Regions from separate parts of the Homo sapiens genome. Here all the other regions are linked to region 2. Evidence: promoter capture Hi-C in 16 types of primary human blood cells and fetal thymus (Javierre and others, 2016). All regions are on one chromosome and are shown on one strand. Each heading gives the region's core, a stretch centred on a gene start or on the middle of the fragment in contact. The rest is flanking DNA. Distances are from core to core; before and after follow the strand shown.

Region 1 (4,658 bases), core at 986-3,485, 990 kb before region 2:
TTTCCTGATAGTCTTTGCCTCCTAGTGAAAGGAGAGAAAGGCATTTGGGAATGTAGCAGGCCCTGAATTTCAGTCATGAAGAGAGAATCTTGACATCCCTTTAATGTTACTTGTGAATGTCCTAAAAGACATAGACTGTTCTTATCCAACATCATTAAAATACATGCCTTGAGGTTTTAATACGGATTTTAAGTGGACCAAGTAATGCTATATTTTTCTAGCACTCTATCTGGAAAAGATGTTCTACCTAAGTAAACTTACAGATAACAGATGTTTACTCCTGTAGGCCAAAATTTTATTTTTAACCATTTTTAACCTAAGCATAGGATTTATTTCCTTTCCTATTTCATTACAGCGCATGTTTTCTAGCAAATGGGCTTTTTGTAAACAGTGGAAGATAAAACAAATAAGGCAGTAGAATTTAATGCACATTACTGAAGGAATTCTGAGATACTTATTTTGTGAACTCAAAGGGAATATTTGCATCCTTCTGGCTTCTCAGACCTATCCTACTTAGCTGAGTTTGACAGATACATGCCTCTGGATGAATGAAATATTCTGTGACCAGGCAGACATTAATTTCTTCTGATGTCACACATTTTTCAAATATTGCCAGTTTGGCATCACATGGTAACCACCAATAGGAAAATGTTAAGATGGGTGTATGTTATAGGCTGAATATTTCTGTCCCCCCAAAATGCATATGTTGAAGCCCTAGCCCCTAATGTGATGGTACTTGAGGTGGGCTTTTAGGAGGTAATTAGGTTTCCATGAAGTCAGAAGGGTGGGGCCTCCCTGATGGGATTATTAGCCTTCTAAGAAGAGGAGAGCAGAGCATGCTCCCTCCCACCCTCCCCAACGCCTTTGTGCTCACTTGATCTCCCTCTCACTTCTGACTTGTGAAGACAGATCCAGAAGGCTGCTGTTCAGAACCAGAAGAAGACCCTCGTCAGGTAGAATCTGCTGGCACTCTGATCTTGGAAGTGCCAGCCTCCAAAACTATGAGAAATAAACATCAGTTGCTTAAGCCACTCAGTGTATGGCATTTTGTTACAGCAGTCTGCTTTAGTCTATTTGGGCTGCTATAATAAAATACCATAGACTAGGTCACTTATAAACTACAGATATATATTTCTTATGGTTCTGGAGTCTGGGAATTCCAAAATCAAGGTACCAGCATATTCCATGTCTGTTTAGGGCCTGTTTTTCCTGGTTCTTAGAGGACACCTTCTTGCTGTGTCCTCACGTGGTAGAAGGGGCAAGGCAGCTCTCTGAGGCCTAATCTCCAGCGCCCTCTTGACTTAATCATATCTCAAAGTCCTTACCTTCTAACACCATCACATTGGTGATTAGGCTTCAGCATAGGCATTTTGGAGGGACACATTCAGGCCATACCACAGCTGGAGCTAAGAGAGCGTAGCAATCATTACATGATCTTGGCCTCAGCAATCCTCTGTCTTAAGTAGCTGAACAGTTTAGCCATAGGCCAGATAGATGTACATGGATATTAGAACTAGATAGCATTATCTGGCCAATATTACAACTTAATATGGTACATATTAAGGTATTCCTGTTTTTTGCTTAGTTTTATTTTTCTTCTCTGCCTTAAGAAATCTCTGTCTTTCATGTACTAACAAGTTTTCAAAACTTCTCTTGGATCACTCTCCATTATTTTCAGAGCTTTAAAGAATATAATTTAATTATGCATATTTTTAAAGTTTCTCCTGAATATGTTTAAAGATGAGATTTTCTCTTTGTAAACTGTAAATTTTCCAAATGTGATGGAGCTCTAATCAATTGGCTTATATTCAAATAATACTTTAATGATCTAACGTTGATGTGAGCCTTTGCCTATTTTGCTCTGTCTTTTTTGTATTGTTTGTAATGTTGGCCCTAGGGTTTAGAGTATATATCCTTAATTTAACACAGTCTTCCTTAATAATATCACTTACAACCAACAATATACTTCCCATTGCTCCCTTCCATCTTTGGTGCTATTGTTGTATCTATAAACCCATAATTATTGCTACCAATTTTACCTTAACCCAGAGGTCACAAACTACAGCCCTGATATCAAATATATCTTGAGACTTAAAAATGGCTTTTACATATTTAAATAGTTGAAAAACATGAAAGAAGAATATTTTGTGACACATGGATATCATATTAAATTCAAATTTCAGCATCCATAAGTGAAGTTTATTGGAGCACCGCCACGCTCATTTACTCACAAATTGTCTACTGGCTGCTTTCCTGCTACGGCTGCAGAGTTGAATAGTTGGGACGGAGACTGGTCTGTGAACTATTTACTATATGGGCCTAATACTTTTCAACCTCTGCTTATAAAGCATTGAAGAAAAATAAAAAGAGAAGTTGTATTTTATATTGACTTTCAACTTAACCATTTGAGGTGCTCCACTGTGCACATGTGTCACCGAGAGATTCTGTCTCTTTGCCCTCTACCTTCCCCCAGGGGTAGACTGCAATTGCTTGTGACTTGATAGTGAATGAGCTTGGTGGTGGAGACGAAGGTGTTTCTCTGTTGTCCTGGTCCAGCCTCAGTCTTAGGAAGCCTCTGTGTGTCTGGGTCTCAAGCATAGGGCTTTCTCAGGATCCTGCCTTTCTTTGGTCTGCCAGACTAAATTCAGCCTTCTGTCTATGGAGAGTCTTGTGTGGGAGAGTTCCCTGCCCCTTTCCAGTGGTAGGAAATCTATAACAATATACATATACTATCAAAGGATTTCAGGACTAGGACTGTTTCCTGCCCTCTCTTTCCCACCCCATTCCTGGGATAGAGGGTTTTTGGCTTTTATCCTTCTCCCCGTTGTAATGGGTCTACACCTCTTGTTTTCCACCCTGATCTGTTCTTTCTAGGAAGCACCCGGTGGAAGTTTGTGGAAAAAAATCAGTGAGTGCTTGCCACTCTCAAAGGTTATATACTCATCCCTGCTCACAGTTGGCCCTTCCTGAATTTGTTAAACATTTTAGCTGGATTTTTCTCACTTATTTGGAATAGTACTCACTGTCTCTTCTTCCCAAGCTCTCCCACAGGTCAGGGAGCCTGTGTTCACTTTCCAACTCCTCTTAGAGGGGTTTTACACCCTTTTACTACTACTGTTTTGCAACGTTAACTCATACAATATGAACTATAAGTTATTCTCACCTAGCAGAGTAAGAAACTGTGTTCCCAGATGGGAAGACAGACTTAGAAAGCACTTTTGTAGCGTGGTTAATTTTTGGTGCTTATTTGTACATCTCAGCAACTACCGGCATGCATTCCTTAACGATGGAAATACATTCTATGAGAAAAGAAGCATTAGGTGATTTTATTGTGGGAATGTCATAGAGTGTACTTATAAAAACCTAGATAGTATAGCCTATTACACACCTAGGCTGTTTGGTATAGCCTATTGCTCCTAGGTTACAAACCTGTACAGGCTGTGACTGCACAGAATACTGTGGGCAGTTGTGACACAACGATAAGTGTTTGTGTATCTGAATATAGAAAAGGTACAGTGCAAATACAGTATCATAATCTTATGAGATCATTATCATATATGCAGCTCCTCATTGACTGAAATGTTATGTAGTCCATGACTGTATTTGCTTATGCAAACTATTTTTCTGTTCTTGCTCATATTTCAAATTAAAATCCAATTTAGAGATGAATTTTAAGTGAGTCTCTAATATGGTAGACTGAGCCAACACAGAAACTCTTCCATTACAAATATCAAGATGTGCCAGATAAAATTTAACAATTAAAAAACTATAGCTTAGATTGAAAATGAGGGAGTAGAATCTCCAAGTGTCTGAAATTAAAGGGAAAGGGAAATTGAAAGCTGGAATGGAGAGGTGTGAGCTGATACTTTAGTAAGAGTAGATGAAGGGAGATGAAAAGGGAGCAAGGGGTCCCAGACAGCCCTATGCCTGAGGTCAATACAGAACTGGAGGTGAGACATTAGAGTTGCATTATGCCCATAAGCCAAACTGCATTACCTAGTTTGGGATCTAAATATATTCCACCTACTTGGTTCAGGAATCCACCTTTCAAGGAATATACATAAGGCCAGGGACGGTGGCTCATGCCTGTAATCCCAGTACTGTGGGAGGCCAACATGGGTAGGATCGCTTGAGCTCAGGAGTTTGAGACCAGCCTCATCACTACAAAAAAAATTAAAAAATAAATAAAAAAAAATATCAGCCAGGCCTGGTGGTGCATGCCTGTAGTCCCAGCTACTAGGGAGGCTGAGGTGGGAGGATCACTTGAGTTTGGGAGATCAAGGCTGCAATGAGCAGTGATTGTGCCACTGCACTTCAGCCTGGATGACACAGGGAGATGATGTCTCAGAAAAAAAAGAAAAAGAAAAGAAAAACAATGAAAGAAAGAAATGTACATAAAATGAATTGTAGGCCAAGGCATACTGGAGATGGTAAAACGAAAGATAGCACTCAAACATTTATTTACACTGGTTTCTCATAGAAGAAACAGTCCCTTCCAAAAGTGTGCTCACAATTAAACATTAAAAACACATGAGGAGGAGCCAGAATATGAGGTGAATCAGTGTACACAACAAACCAACACGTGAATGAGGCCTGTGTTTCAGGCAAAGGGAACAGAAATCTGGAGGGAAAAGGTTATGTTTGAAGAGTGGAGAGAT
Region 2 (4,516 bases), core at 997-3,496:
AGGTGTGAGCCACTGTGCTGGGACTGTGTGTGTCAATAAAAAATTTTGCTTGTTCTAGAATTAACCCAAGGTCTTCAGTACCATTAATTCACTAACAACAATTTAAAAAAAATCCTCCCTAAAGACAAAGTAGGTGGCAGTTTCAGAGTACTTTCAATATTAACATAGAGCATCTTGACCCTTAGAGCCACGAAAGAAGAAAAACTAAATTCAGTGAAATTTGCACATGATAGCAGCCCTCCTTGGTTGTTTTTTCCCTGACAGCTTCTGGGAACTGAATGAACTTAATTATGTTTTATTAATAAACTATTATTAATTTTGCATCCTGAAATAAGTGCTTGAATCAGGAATAGCATACTTCCCACTAAATTCCTTTTGCCTGAATGAAATCTTCAGATTCCCATCTATACTGCAAGGGCACTTTAAGAGCTACCACATAGGCCATAACGTTCTTGGAAAACAGGATATGCTGTCAGTTGCCTAGGTAGAGACAGGAGCTGACAAGGCAATCCTCAAGTTCCTTTCTTTTATTCTGAGAGCTGTATTCTGTGGATAGGGATTTTGTATTTTAGTGCTAACAATGTTTTTCAGTACCTAACACCATGAGTATTCAAAGGTCTGATGTTATCTTTAATGTATGTAATGAACATACAATGGTATATCTTATGAATATTACATTCATTTTCTATTCCTACAACGTTTTCAGAGGAAATATTTTTACCCTGACCTGGATTCTATCGCTATCCTAATAACTGTGGTTCAGAAAATTGTCTCACAGGCAGACAGTTTCCTAATCACGTTTTACTCAATTATTTTATTTCTCAATATGATAGGCTGTGAAGTAGTCCACTGGAAAAGGCATCATGCTGAGAGTAAGAAAAGCTTATTTGTTCACTGCTCTATCTCCAGCACCTAGAACAATGCCTGACCCAGAACAGGTGCATAGTATTTGCTGAGTGAATTCTAATCCTACTTCTGGGTAAAATTAAGTAAATTAATTAGTTCTTGAGGGACTCTGTCTAGATGACCCCTAAACTTCCATGGTAAGGTTTTGTGGTTTTTATCTTGGCTTTTCTAAATGCTCTAAAAATAGTAGTGGATGGTAACAATGCAGTGTTCAGTAAAATCAATTGGTGGAGATTGTAGATAGATGGCTCATAAGACATCAGTATTACAAATCCTATGTGTGTGCGCGTGTGGTCATACAAGGCAAAGTTAAAGTCTTTTTTTTATGACGATGATAAATTAGTCTTGTTTGGGCGACTGAACTCAAGAGGTGGTTCAAATAAATGTCATATTTTTCATTGTATCTTCAGTGCCTAGTACAGTTACTGGCTCATAGTAGGTATTCAATAAATAGTGGTTGAATTAATTGCCTTCCTTAACGTTCCGTTTAAATGCTAGACGCAGCTAGGTCTTTACCCCTCCTTAGAAAGAGATGGAGCTGTAACCAGAAATCCCTTAAAAGGTAAGGACCAGTAATCAGGCTGAGCTAAGCTCATGGGTAGTACGAGACAGGCTTAAAGCACTGAAGGAAGAAAGAAGAGAACCCAAGCGTGAGAGAAAGCAAAACAAAACAAGTAAAGAGAGGAAGAAAAACATTTCTAAAGTGGGGGTTGGCAGGAAGCCACAGCAATTACAGCAGGTCAACCCTTGTCAATAGGTGGTCACCTCAAGAACTTACCATTAAAACCCTCGGCCACACAGACCCCACTTTTAAAAGGTTATTAATTCTGACATGCCCAAGTTCATCTGAGTTCCTTAGAAAGATCAACCAGCAGCACCTACTTCACGACCTATCCTCCATTCCATTCAAATAACGCGGCCAATAGGAAAATCCTCCGCCCTGAGCCAACGACTCGGCGTAGCTGAGACAGCACGGGAGGCAGATCTGCCCTGTAGAGCCTTGCGGTTCCACTGCTGGCCTCCGGATTCCCGGGAGCCCCCAGCCCGACAGGACAACCTTCCTTCCCCGCTTCCTCCTTTCCAGGTCTGTCCCAGCCCCCGCTGCCTGGGCCACACCCGCTTCCCTCTGGTGGCCCAGCCACCACCGCCGCAGTTCGCGGGAGCGCTCTTCCTGGGGCGGGCACAGGCCCAGGGCGCATGCGCACTGGTCGAAGGGCGCCTCCCAGTCCGGATCTCGCGAAGTTACGTTAGATTGGCCGCCGGTGACGGGTGGCCGTGCTGGGGGCGGGAGGGCTTCTGTGGTAGGAAGGGAGGTCCGCTCGGCCGGGTGCGCCGCCCCAGTGCTCTGTGGGATACTGGAAGTCTCGAGCGTCGGCTCCGGGTTCCCAGCCCTCCTCTGGCCCGCACTCATAGAAACATTCACACACCCCCTGCCTCCCCTCTCTTCCCTCTCCGCCTCCCCCTTCCCCCCCTCGCGATAAGAAGACCCGGCGGCAGGAGAGGGGATGAAGATGGCGGACGCGAAGCAGAAGCGGAACGAGCAGCTGAAACGCTGGATCGGCTCCGAGACGGACCTCGAGCCTCCGGTGGTGAAGCGCCAGAAGACCAAGGTGAAGTTCGACGATGGCGCCGTCTTCCTGGCTGCTTGCTCCAGCGGCGACACGGACGAGGTCCTCAAGCTGCTGCACCGCGGCGCCGACATCAATTACGCCAATGTGGACGGACTCACTGCCCTGCACCAGGTCTGTGCGCCCCGCCGCCGGCTCTCCTGACCGTGAGGGTTCTCGTCGGCCTCCTGCTCGGGCCTGCCCTCAGTTCTCCACCTCTTGAGGCTGGGGGCGGCGGGAGACTCCCTGCTGCGGGGTGAGGGGGCGGTTTCCCCAGAGGGCGGGAGGGAGAGCTGGTGGAAGGGAGGGCGCTGGGCTTGAGGCCCCCCTTCAGAACAGTTGCTGGTGGAGTTGGGAACCGGGTGATTTCCGGGGCATAGGGGAAAAGGAACTGTGGTCGTTTGGGGCCCCAGGGCCATTCGTGGATAAGTCTGGGATTTGGGGTCGAGACAAGGAGGGGTGTAGTGGGGTTGTGCCTGGGCCCCGGTGTCAGTGGTATATTCGGAGGGGTGGATGCTGAAGGAAGAAAACTAACAAGGGGCATTACGGACGGTTAGGCAGATGAACATCTTTGACTTGTAGGTGGGCATTGGATTTGTTGCACTTTTTAGGACTTGATTACAAATGATGATAATAATAGTAATCTAGAGCCCTAAGCCGAGTGCCCTGAACGAACGATTTCCTGTTTTCTCATTTATTACTCTTGGTCACTGGGGAGGGGAAAACAGGGTGTAATTAGCTGATCTGCACCGGCTGAAAGGAAGGGGATGGAAGTGGGTAGAGTAAGGAAGCCCTCTAAAGGGCTTGCCCACCTCCGGACCGGAACGTGTTGAGTCTGATACTCGAAGTTTGCCGCAGTGTCAGAGATCCTTGAGCCCCAGGTCCTCGGGTGTGCACTGGTGTTAGAAAGAGAAGAATAAATAGGGGACACTCTTTTCAAAGCCGGTTACCAAGCTCTGGTTTTTCTTTTGGGGTTGGGAAAAAAGAAAGCTGGTCACAAACTTTTCTCAAAATGGATGCTTTGTGCATATTAAAGTTTTATAGTAGTCTGATTGGGATCTCTCAATGTTAGCCAAATAAGGAGAAACTATTGGCAATCCAGAGATAATGTTGCCTTGCCTTTAACAGGCCAAAAGCAACACAACCACGTAGAGTTATGCATAAAAAGCAATTTTTAAGTGACGGTAATAGGTGACAAAACATAGGCTTTTTCTATTTTCTTAGCGGGCAACTTGGAATAACTGTAATAGAAAATGACTTTGCAGCGATAGCTTCCCCTTAACAATGAAAAGACTTGTAAGCTATCTCAAAGTTGCCTTGGTTGTGTGTGGAAGATGCATAGCCTTATTTTGAATAATGTTGTAGTAAAAACTTGTTTGGGAGGTTGAAACTCAAGGCTTTATATTTCATGAATATTAACTTGATGCCTTTTAAAAAAAAGGTGTGTAGTGACATTTTTCCTTGTCCTGCTTACTGTTTAAGGGAGTGATGACCATTTTAAATTTTGTGTAATGGAATTCTCTTATCAGACTTGGAGTATAGCCTTTGTTTACAAAGTTGACTGGATATATTGAAATGATTGACACATTGCAGGACAAATATGGAATTAAAAATGTGGCACCCAGTAAAAATATAGCAGGGTGTCTAGCGCTTTCTCAATTTCATTAATTTAGATTCTCTAATGCATAGCAAACTTTTTATTTGGGTGAAGTTTATTTAAGGCATATCATAACTCGTAAAATTTTAAAACCATGGTGTTGAGAATGAAGGAAACTTTTGGCATTAAAAATGATAATGTAATTATATAAGATGAATCTTCAAATTTCTTTCAAGTGTACTTTACACGTTTTAGTGTGAAACAGATTTTGAAAGACGATTATTACTGTAGGAGGTCAGGATAATTGGATAATGGTTCGCATCAATATGTTTTATTCAAATTGTCAAATAGAAATTTAAAGTTACTATTGTTGTGGAGGAACCCAGTTGTATTGGCTTAGAGGAAG
Region 3 (4,667 bases), core at 1,838-4,337, 520 kb after region 2:
GTCTCCACTTTCCAGCACATTCCTTTCTTTGATATGAACAATTGATATTCTATTTTACATAAGTGTTTTGCAATGGAGCTTCAAGACCATCTTTCCAACCAGATTGCCCTGGTGGAGTCCCTTTTATACCAGCATTATGGTGCTATCACTACAGCAGTTACATGAAAAAGTAAAATAGTGTGATAATATTTATATATAACATAAATCTATGCTTGCACATGTATGAAAAATTTCTGAAAGGATGCACATGCAACACTTTAACATTGGTTATCTCTTAATGGAAGGACTGGGTAGGGCAGGGGAGAGAGAAACTTTATACTTCTGGTCTGTTTTTACTTCTCTGTCATAAACACATATTACTTTTATAATTTAAACAAACAAACAAATTGTAAATAAGCAAGCAAATAATTCTATATAAATAAATAAATAAAATGGAAAATATATAAAGGAAGAGTTACCTAAATCCTTTGGGTACAGGTAACCTAACAAGGCCCTGCAAAAAAATACAAGTACCTGTGTTTTCTGTGGTGAGCCATGAGACCAGAGATTTGTCTGTTTTGCACATCACTATATTCCTTTTGGAGAAATGGTTTTTTGAGTCCTATTGCCACTTAATTCTTGAGGACCCTGAAAATTATGCTTTACATCTGGCAGGGACAGCAAGTATCACCTCCTCCCAGGAGCCTGTTGTGATTCTTGTAGCCCTCATTCATCTCTGCTTTCTTTCCACTCCTATTACAAAATTTCATTGCCTTAGAGTCAGTGCCTTTCTGCCCTTTATTTATATTAATTGTATTCCTTTTATCTTCAGGCAGTTGATGCCAAGAAGAAAGAGGTCTTCAATTCCATTACAGCTGCTCCCATCATAGTGTTCCCTTTATTACCCTGTAGATCTACTGATAAGGAATACAGGTTTTACTTCTCTAGCAAGATTGCAGGTATAGGACTTCTTTGTGCGATAAAGGAGAGAAGATTACACAGAGTGTGCCAAATTGCATAGACTGGGATCCTCCTGGACAGTAGCTGCAATTCTCCTGGGAGAGCTATGCTTCAGGACAAAGTACCAACTGCTTAGTACAACATACAAGGATCTAATGTGTCCCCACCTGCCAACACACACACATACACACACACAAACACACTCAGAATCCTCATCTGCTGCCACTTCCTGGTACACACCCATACTCCGGCTTCACCAAAATACTTGTCTTCCTGGTAGGCACAATGCATTCTTATAGGCCAGTAATTTGTACCAACTGCGGTTCAGTTGCATTCAGAATGCAATTAACCCACATTCAATTTCTCCTTCCTTTGCATTTTGATTTAATGATGCTTGACTCTAAATAGCTTCTCCTATAGAGGAAGAAAAATAGACTTCAGCAAGACAATTGGAGGATGGGCAAACCCCAATAATGTTTTATAATTTTATGGGCATGGTGTTCTGTGTTATTGCCCACTAAATTTTCATTGGGGTGTACTCCAGGTGAGTCACTGTAGCAGTCCCAGCCTAAATTGTAAACAAAAAATGCATATTTGCCTTCCTTACATATATGGAAAAGAACTGTTAGGCTTATAGAGGAAAAGAGAGTTATGGTTCAATATTTAATTTTTGATTTTGCTGTTAGAGGATTATTTTTTTCTTCCTGTTTTTATTTGTACCTTACTATTTAGGCATGCAATTACCTGAAGTTTTGTCCTGATAATCTAACTGGGAATTAAGAGAGAGTATTCAAACTTTCTCTTACATTAATTCTTGATTTATGATTTAGCTTTTGACCATGAGGAAAGGTTTAAAAACTTGCAAAGAATTAACTACTCCAGAGTATTTTATACAACACAGAAGCAAGAAAATATATCATCCCATTCACAAATAGAATGTGCCTAGGGTATTTGAAATTCTCTACTTAGCAAATATCAGGAAATGCTACAAACAGCTATTTGGCATATTGTGATCTGGCTACTTACTGTATTGGCTTTAAATGTAGTGAAACATGACACAACATCAGATATTTAAAGGCACAAAGTTGTTTTCAGCTCAGTTACACATTTAGATGGGGAGTATCCTATTTGGTATGAAAATAGTTGAGCAGACAGATCTTGTGGTTTATTGACTACTTGAATTAAATTTGAGCCCCTTGGAATATTTTCACTTGCCACTCTACAGAGACAAGAGCTTGACAGTCAAGTCAAGGGAAAAACTGTGCTGGGAGAAAACCCATAAATCACATATGAAGCAGTGTCCTTCAAACTCAACACAATGCGAGCCAAGATCATGGTGGCTTCTTTCTTCAAAGGAGGAAAATATCTGGGTACCTTATTGGAAGAGGTCAGGTGACAACTTCATTGACTGCCTCTTGAAATGGAAGGATAACCTCTCCTTTTATGTTGCCATTCTGAGTTAGCATACATGACTTATCTTCAGAACCAGAGGCTTTTTCCTTTCAGTCTGAAGTTAGTGTTTCCAAATTTGAGCCCATGAGCTTCTTTCTCTCCTCTCATATCTTTCCACAATAATAAAAAAGGCTAAATATAAAGGCAGGGGAAATGTTCCACTTCAGTAGTGATCAAAGGCATAGTTAACCTGAGGCTGATGTTTTGGTCTATTGAATCGGTAAAGAATTTAAAAAAATTATATGATGTTTATTGCTGAGCAAAAGTATTGGCATATACTCAGATAGTAGGGTAACAATGTAAAACGTTAATTTTTCTGGAGAGGAATTTGGCATATCAAAGCTTTAAGATATGCATATTATTTGATCAGAAAAACTATCTTCTAAAAGTAATTGTGGATATGAACAAAGATTTAGTAACAAAGATGTTAATTGCAGTGTGGTTTATAATACAGAAAAACTCAAAATGATTAACAATAGTGTTACAGTAGGTGGCTGGTCAGACATGAGCAGGACAGGAGAGACCATCGTCCCGTCCCCCACCCAGGAATGTCAGGCAACCATCAGATGATGGTCAGGCAATTATTAACTGACTCTCTAAAATAATAATTGGTTGCAGCCAGCCCCAGGGAAAGTAGTCTCCCAATACATAGAAAAACCTGAGACTAGTGATCAGCTTCCTGATAAGATCTCAGGAGTTGGGCGAATGGGCTGAAGCATGCAAACTAAGAGGCAAGATGGTGGAGTTTAACTGGTATATTACCTTATAGGGACACTTGACTGGTAAGGGAAGAGTGCCCCAAGTAAGCATGCATACAACTCCAGTAAACACACTCTGCATGTGGCTGGCTCCTCCTAAGCACTGGCGGGCCACTGTGCATGCGGACAGCCCACCCCAAGGGAAGAATCATGGCAGAAGGGACACAAGACCCAGGAAGCATGCCAGTGTATAAAACCCCAAATCAAAAGGTCAAACTGTGGACTTGATCTCTCAAGTCACCTGTGTGGCCCTCTTCCAAGTGTACTTTACTTCTTTCTGCTCTAAAGCTTTTTAATAAACTTTCTACTGCCCTGTTCATGTCTGACTAGCTATCTACTGTAACATTTCAGACCTGTACAGACTCGCCATGCCAACAATAGGACGTTGGTTAAATTGTGGAATGATATCATGAAATGATCTATAGCAATTTAAAACAATGTTGAAAAGAATATTGGTGCAGAAGGACGCCTCAATATATCATTGCTAAAAAAAAAAGAGGTTAAAAATGATGTGCTTTGTATGTTTCAATTGTATTAAGAGAAGTATATAGATACACATGTGTATATGAAAATCAACCTGGAAAAATGTACCATAAAATTAACTGCACTTATTTCTGGGTGGTGAGTTTTATGATTGCTTAGCACTTTTTTCTAATTATCTACATTTCAAAATTTCTACAATTACATATATATTTCTATGTAAACACATATATTTATGTTTGTTTCAAATATTTATATTTATGTTAGTAAAACACAAAAGGTTTGATTTATATAAATAAATATGAATATGCATGGAAAGCTAAGTCACTGTATGATCTGACAATGATAGCAAGTCAAGGAGCCAGAGAACCTGACCATGACCAAAACTAGGTGTTGCCTCCTTCAGTACCCATTTCACCTCCTTCCCTTAGTTTTAGCACCCTAATTTTTAGCTGGGCACATTGCCACCTACAATAAAAGACTACATTTCCCAGCTTCCCTTGCAGGTGGTCAAGACTAGATTCATGACCATCGAGATGTAAGTGGAAGTACTATGTGGGACTTTCAGTAAAGGACATAGGTTCACACTTATTTTTCCCTTTTTCTCTTCATTGTCTGGAGCCTCATGTGCCACACAGGTCCATGGCATGAAAGCCATATGCTGAGGACGGCAGAAGAGAAAGACGGCAGCTTAGGTTCCTTGTGATAGATGAAGACCCCATGTCAGCTTTGGACTGCTTATCTTTACATTATTTCATATTCCAGAGAAATAAATTTCTATGTCATTTACATCATTGTTATTTTGAGGTTTGCATTATTCTTCAACCAATCTCGGGCTTATCTAATATACTGACTAATTGTGTTTGTGGTTGGTTATTGCTGTCAAATCAGAACTGTTTACTGAAGGGCTCCTTAAAATAAGTTATCCAGAAAAAGAAAATATTTGGAGCATTATGAAAACCACACTTTCACATCTACACTAGCATGCTGAATTTCTTGGATTTGTAGATGATCTCTCATTAGTGACTTTTTTTTGAT

The links. The method cuts DNA at HindIII sites, captures the fragments that hold promoters and counts their contacts. A CHiCAGO score of 5 or more calls a contact.
Region 1: a contact is called between a fragment that was not itself captured here and the fragment with the promoter of PPP1R12A in region 2, in 1 of 17 cell types (neutrophils). The highest score is 7.0, in neutrophils.
Region 3: a contact is called between a fragment that was not itself captured here and the fragment with the promoter of PPP1R12A in region 2, in 1 of 17 cell types (endothelial precursors). The highest score is 5.4, in endothelial precursors.

What each region holds. Positions count from the first base shown.
Region 1 is chr12:80,917,754-80,922,411 of GRCh38, reverse strand. All of the region lies in intron 1 of LIN7A (lin-7 cell polarity scaffold A), which reads left to right. Among named protein-coding and RNA genes, the nearest start is that of MIR618, 16 kb to the left of the region's middle. The HindIII fragment of the contact is 7,230 bases long and covers 1-4,658 here.
Region 2 is chr12:79,932,827-79,937,342 of GRCh38, reverse strand. It overlaps PPP1R12A (protein phosphatase 1 regulatory subunit 12A), which reads left to right and starts at 2,246. Exons shown (of 25, transcript NM_002480.3): 1 at 2,246-2,648. The coding sequence starts at 2,412. PPP1R12A-AS1 (PPP1R12A antisense RNA 1) reads right to left here and starts at 2,062. Exons shown (of 2, transcript NR_146535.1): 1 at 1,789-2,062. RefSeq lists enhancers at 1,731-2,296, 2,020-2,314, 2,361-2,660, 2,297-2,860, 3,001-3,060 and 1 more and a silencer at 2,741-2,830. The HindIII fragment of the contact is 9,894 bases long and covers 885-4,516 here.
Region 3 is chr12:79,410,824-79,415,490 of GRCh38, reverse strand. All of the region lies in intron 9 of SYT1 (synaptotagmin 1), which reads right to left. Among named protein-coding and RNA genes, the nearest start is that of MIR1252, 6.1 kb to the left of the region's middle. The HindIII fragment of the contact is 704 bases long and covers 2,736-3,439 here.